Linked DNA regions of Homo sapiens: region 2 is linked to region 1. Evidence: promoter capture Hi-C in human tissues and cell types (Jung and others, 2019). All regions are on one chromosome and are shown on one strand. The core of a region is centred on a gene start or on the middle of the fragment in contact, and the rest is flanking DNA. Distances in the headings are between cores, read along the strand shown.

Region 1 (3,214 bases), core at 471-2,970:
AGTGACACTTTGGAAAAGCAAGCCTGACAACTCAGGCGACACATTCAATATAAACCATGGTGTGAAGGCACAGCACGCTTGAGCACAGCACGGAGCCATCAGATCCAGACATGATCTGATTCCGCGGCCCTCCCTTCACCAGTTCTCGTTTTCGAGCTCTAATTCCAAAAGGAAACGTCAGGGATGGAAAAAGGCCTATTTGGTCATTAATGTGTCCATTCTGGCCAGCTCAGAGGTCATCCCTACAGTCATGCTCCAGGGCTATGAAGAATCCAGTTTTAATGGTCTCAAACGATGGGCTTTCTTCACGTGGAGAGACTATTCCACAGTTTAATGGTTGGTCATGGTTAGCTTTTCAGTCCGGGCCCCAGAAGTAGCCGAACAGGCAAAAAAGAAAAAAAACCACCCCACAACAACCCCAAAACCCAGAGACGAGGGGAAGGGGGATTGAAAAAATGGGAAGAAAGAGGGGAGCAAACCACCTACATCATGTAATGTTATCCTTTTCAAATCAAACGCCTTTAGAAATCCCTAATCCCAGGCCCCCACTGCCCATAATCGCTAGACACCCTCGAGTGACGACCTAAAGCAGGTTTGATTTGAAAAGAAACAACACATCTATATCCCAGCTCCACCCTTCAGTCTTAAGAGACAGTGAAACCAGCCCTAAGAACACTATCTCTTCCAAGAGCAAGGCCAGGGTCCGCACGAAGTCAAGTGGCCACCAACTGACGGGCAACTTTGCTCACTACCTCAATCTGTCAAACTCGTCGGATTATCACCGGGAAATCAAACGTCATGCCGGCAAAGTACGGGCGCTCCACTGAGGGCTCTGGGGGCATAACAGGTTAAGGCTAACTCACAGGTCCAAGAGACACTTCTAGCCACTGTCTCAGTGAGCGGCGGTTCGGAAGAATAAAGGCACGCCTCCCAGGGTACCCTCCCAGTACACCGAGCAGTGAGAGCGCGGCAAGTAGAAAAGCAGCGCACGACCCCATGGCATCGCCGGGCGGCAGGCCCAGGTGCACTCAGGAAAAGACCCTGGGCACTGGCTGCTTTCACCGCGCGGAATCGCCAACTGCAGCCCAGCGACAGGGTGAGGGGTCGAGAGGGGCTGCGGGACCAGAGACGATCCCTCCGGAGACGGACGCGGCACGCAATTCCAGCCAGTGCCTTAGGGCAGGTTTCACCGTCCCCCTCCCCACCAGAACACCAGGAGGAGGTGGGGACAGGGGAGGGGGTGTCCCCCAGATCCCCGCTGGCTCCAGAAAACTCTCTGCAGTCCTTGCAGTCAAGTCAACATCAGACGAGATCAAGCGGGTGAGGGAAGGGAAGGATCGACGGGTGGGGAGAGGAACCGACCTGTCGATGAGGATCTTGTGGTCCCCCATCCAGGGGATGAGGTGCTGTCCCTGTTCCTGAGCCAGGGCCCGCTCGTCGTCCCGGAACAGCTTGCAGGCATAGCCGAAAACCAAGAGCTCCACTCGGCTGCCCCCACCGCCGGCACCGCCTGGCCCGGCCTCCTCCTTCGCGCCGCTTTTCCTCTCGGGTTTGGCGCGGCCCCCGCTCGCGCCGTACATGACAGCGTCCCCGGCGTCCAGGCTGGTCCTCTTCTGTGCCGCGCGACGTCCCTGATACCTCCACTTGGCCTACCCCTTCAGTCAAAGACCCCGCATCCCGTACCCAACCTCAACACCGCCGCCATAGCGGGCCACAAAATGGTGGAGGGGCAGCTTCCGGCAGGAGAGCCCGCATTTCCGGCGAGCGGACCGGCAGATTCGCCTAGGCTTGGAGCTCTTTTAGCCGCTAGGAAATATTTTGGCTTTAATTTTCGCATTCAGGTGTGCCGCCACAATAGGCGCTGCTGTATTCAGTGGAAAGTGCAATTTTAATGTCCGTTTTATCGGGCAGCCGTCAGGACGTGGCGAAAGCGCAGCGTGGGATCGCGCGCCGGCTTCCGCTGCGGCCAGTCGGGCGGCGACGGAGTCGGAGGGAGGGGCCCGGCGCGCTCTGGGCCTTGGGCGAGTCCTCGTGGGTGGCGGGTTGCTGCAGCCTGCCACATGTGTGGAGGCCTCGGGTCCACCCCGAGCCTCCGCGCCCCTCACCATGTCCGAGTCGCTGGGGCCGTGCGTGCTCTGCCCAGGGTGGCGATGTCCTTTTCCTTGGCCCCGTTTCCTTCTCCATCCCTAGGGGGACTTGGTCCCCGACCCGCCCACCTTTGAAGGTTTCCGAGGCAGCAGAGGCCCCTGCGCTGCAAATCACTCGCGGGTGGCGAGATTTCGGAAACCTGAGACCCTTGTCGCCGGGAGATGGTCTGGCGGGGCAGGGAGACCCCAGTCTGGAGACTGGCCACCTGGATACGGTGCAATTTTGCTTGGTGTGTTTCCTCCTGGGCCGCAGTTTTCCCATCGGTGGTTCCATTAGGATCTTTCGGTCCCTTTTAGCTCAGTAATTTCAGGTCAGACAAAGGGCCTGGAGTGCAAAATCTTAGGCTTTGGGATGGGATGGGATATCCCCATGTTTGCCCTTGAGTGGAAAACGATGACAGATCGTCTCCTTTCTGGGCCTCAGATCCCCTCTCCATAAAAATGGAATCTTTCTACCAGTGATGTTGAAATGAGATAATGTATATGAACCTTTAACTGATTTTTGGAAATTAAGAAACAGGCAGTTCCCACCAAACGTCTTTTGTTGTGGTTTCCCCTGACTGGGTCATGCTTCTGTCTTCATTTGCCAGGCTCCTTACCCAAGTTTAACTCAGTCATCCATTTCTCCACCTGGCCTTATGTGTCTACGTTGTCTGGAGTTTCCCCTCACTGGTGGCTAACTTGTGCCTTCCGATTTGTCTGTGTACCTCTCATCACCACCTTAGGTTACATCCTGTGTTCAGCATCCCACCAGAATTAGCTTTAAGAGATCAGGGACATTGTTGGGGTCACCTTAGCATCCTCAGCACCTAGAATGGTGCTTAGCACACTGTGGGCCAAATACTGGTTAATACCTGTAGAATGAGCCGGGCCAGCAGCTGAGCATGCGTGGCCAGGCCATCATCTTCCTATCTAACTCTACAAGACTGCTCTGCCACTGCTGAGGAAGATGTATGTGTCATGGTTACTTGATAAAAACACTGTTGTTTGCCCCCAGGCATTTACTAGTTTGTTTCGGTGCTGGGCTCCCTTCAAGCTTTCCCTTGGGTTCAGGTGTGGGGTGCTAA
Region 2 (3,214 bases), core at 368-2,867, 160 kb before region 1:
CTGCTGGGGGGTACAGAGAATGTGCACAAGAAAGGGAGGCTGGGGGGAGCTCACACGTGGGCCTGGCAGAGCTGGGGTTCCCGGCAGTGGCCCTTGCCCACCTGCTGTGCCGCCCCTGCAGGGACCTGGGATGTGGTCCAGCCTTGGGGAAGGGGGCAGTGGCGGATCCCAGCCTTCTGAGGTGGGGGCGGGGGGACTCCTGCTCCGGGATCGGGCCAGGCTGTGTCTGGGCGGCCACACCCAGCGCACCTGCTCCTCACACCTGTGGGCATCCCGGGCCGGCTCCCCCTGTCTTTCCCACTGTGGGCCGTGAGGCCTGGGCCACTTCCCTTTGCCCTTCTCACACCGCTGCCCTCCTGGTGGATTGGGCCGTGGCACCAGCGTGCATCCAGCCTTCCCACCGCTGGCCTGTGGGTATCCTGCCCTTCCTGCAGGAGCCAGCCTGGCCTCAGCACCCCGTGGAGGGTGCAGGCGTCCCGGGCTGCAGCTCTGAGCTTGGCCTGTGGCTGCTTGGCCCTGCTGTGGCCCTGCTGTGGCCCTGCTGAGGGTCAGATGCCCGGGCCCTGGACCTGAATGGGAACCATTCTCAGCTGCACCCCAGTCCGCGCACATGGCCATGGGGCAGGGGACAGACCTGCATGGGGCTGAGTGGCTGCGGCTCCTGGAGACCCTGGAGGGAACCCCATGGGCTGCCTCGAGGATGGAGGATCTGATGCCACAAAGGGCTCAGAGCCAGGCCTGCAGCCTGGCCAGCAAGTGACTCAGCTGCGGCCCTGCCAGCCACAGGCCTGGGTGGGCTCATGTCCGTTCCCTGGTTCAGCACCCACGACGTAACTTCTAACCATCCTTCCATGCCCACCACACACCTCGGGCCAAGCTCAGTCATGTGAGCTCCCACCTCAGCCCTGCCAGGCTCATACTCCGCTGGAACCGCACAAGGCTGGCACTCTGTGACTTTAGGATTCAGCCGGATGTCCCCTCCTAAGGGGCTGTCCCTGATCACCTAAACCAAAGCCACGCCTCCCGGGCCCCTGTACTCCTCATCTTCCCCGGCCCACATGGCTTCAAGCTTCCATCACAGGACAACTGGCCCTGATGTTCACTCACAACGTGGAGGAAATAGGAAGCCACTGTAGCTCAAGAGGTTTACACAACTCACGTGGCCCTGGATGGGGTAATCGTTCAAACGAATCCATGTAAAGATATTTTGTGGGGACGGGACACATTTCAATATGGATGGGTCTCACACGACCTTACAAAATCATTGTGTGTGGGGATGGGACACATTTCAATATGGATGGGTCTGACACAACATTACAAAATCATTGTGTTTTTGGTGTTTTTTAGATAAGGGGTCTCACTATGTTGCCCAGGCTGGTCTTGAACCCTAGGCTCAAGCGATCCTATAGTCTCAGTCTCAGAAAGTGCTGGGATTCCAGGCATGACCCATGGTGCCTGGGCCGGAATTGTTAATTTTGTCAAATGTGATCGTGATATTGTTATGTAGGAAAATGTGCACCTTCTTAGAGAGAGAGAGAAAATATTTAGGAGAGACATGTCATGATATCTGTTTTTATTTCAAAATTGCTATAACAAGCACAAAAATAAATAAAGCAACATCCAAAGCCCTCACAATGCTGGAATCTAGGTGCGGTGCTTATAAAAGGCTGTTCATTCAACTACTTTCTTTTAAAAAAAATTTCTTTTGAGACAGGGTCTCACTCTGTTGCCCCAGGCTAAAGTGCAGTGGAGAAATCATAGCTCACTGCAGCCTCCAACTCCCAGACTCAAGCGATCCTCCTACCTCAGCCTCCCTAGTAGCTGGGACTACCAGTGCACACCACCATGCCCGGCTAATTTTTGAATTTTTTTCACAGACGGGATTTTGCCATGTTGCCCAGGGTGGTCTTACACTCCAGGGCTCCAGTGATCCACCTGCCTCAGCCTCCCAAAGTGCCGGAATTACAGTCCACTCCTTTTTTTTTTTTTTTTTTCTGAGACAGAGTCTTGCTCTGTTGCCCAGGCTGGAGTGCAGTGGCGTAATCTCAGCTCGCTGCAACCTCCACCTCCCAGGTTCAAGCAATTCTCCTGCCTCAGCCTCCTGAGTAGCTAAGATTACAAGCACCTGCCACCCTGCCTGGCTAATTTTTGTATTTTGGTAGATACGGGGTTTCGCCATGTTGGCCAAGCTGGTCTCGAACTCCTGACCTCAAGTGATCTACCCACCTCAGCCTCCCAAAGTGCTGAGATTACAGGTGTGAGCCACCGCGCCAGGCCCAGTCAACTACTTTCTTTTTTCTTTTTTCTTTTTTTTGAGACGGAGTCTCTCGCTCTGTCGCCCAGGCTGGAGTGCAATGGCTTGATCTTAGCTCACTGCAACCTCCACCTCCTGGGTTCAAGCGATTCTCCTGCCTCAGCCTGAGTAGTTGGGATTACAGGCGCCCACCACCACGCTTGGCTAATTTTTGTATTTTTTAGTAGAGATGGGGGTTTCACCACGTTGGCCAGGCTGGTCTCGAACTCCTGACCTCAGGTGATCTGCCCGCCTCGGCCTCCCAAAGTGCTGGGATTACAGGTGTGAGCCACTGCACCCAGCCAAGTCAACTCCTTTCTAAGCTTGAAAATTTTCGTGAAGAAGAAATACTGTATATGAGAAAAGAAAAAAGAACATACTGGGAATTCCTGTATGTTTACTTAAATAATCTTCTCAGACCTTTTTCTTTATTGCTATGTAATACATACATAATAATATACATAGCACATATAAACAGCATAATTAAATAAGGAACACCCTGTAAATCACCACCTCACCCAAAACTAAGAACATCTCCAATTTATTTTTTCTGTTTGTTCTGAGACAGGGTCTCGCTCTGTCGTGCAGGCCGGAGTGCAATGGCAGGATCTTGGCTCACTGCAGCTTCCACCTCCCTGGCTGAAGCAATTCTCCCATCTCAGCTTCCTGAGTAGCTGGGACTACAGCGTGCACCACTATGACTGGCTGTTTTATTTTTATTCTTACTTTTTGTAGAGATTGGGGGCGGGGGGGGTGGTCTCACTAAGTTGCCCAGGCTGGTCTCGAACTCCTGCCTCCAGCGATCCTCCCACCTCAGCTTCTTCAAGTGCTGGGGTTACAGGTGTGACCACCGCGCCCGGCCCAGTCATTTTCATTGTCATCTGTGGTCCTCCCATCCCATCCTCCCAACCTCCCCAACCA

What was found. The method cuts DNA at HindIII sites, captures the fragments that hold promoters and counts their contacts. A contact is called where the count stands out against the background at its distance.
Region 2: a fragment that was not itself captured here is called in contact with the fragment with the promoter of SFSWAP in region 1 in 4 of the 25 tissues and cell types used here (H1 embryonic stem cells, adrenal gland, liver and 1 more).

What each region holds. Positions count from the first base shown.
Region 1 is chr12:131,709,596-131,712,809 of GRCh38, reverse strand. SFSWAP (splicing factor SWAP) reads right to left here and starts at 1,720. Exons shown (of 18, transcript NM_004592.4): 1 at 1,363-1,720. The coding sequence starts at 1,580. RefSeq lists enhancers at 1,486-1,555, 1,646-1,935, 2,076-2,165. The HindIII fragment of the contact is 15,511 bases long and covers 1-3,214 here.
Region 2 is chr12:131,865,617-131,868,830 of GRCh38, reverse strand. No RefSeq gene overlaps it. Among named protein-coding and RNA genes, the nearest start is that of ULK1, 27 kb to the left of the region's middle. RefSeq lists an enhancer at 411-1,007. The HindIII fragment of the contact is 5,868 bases long and covers 1-3,214 here.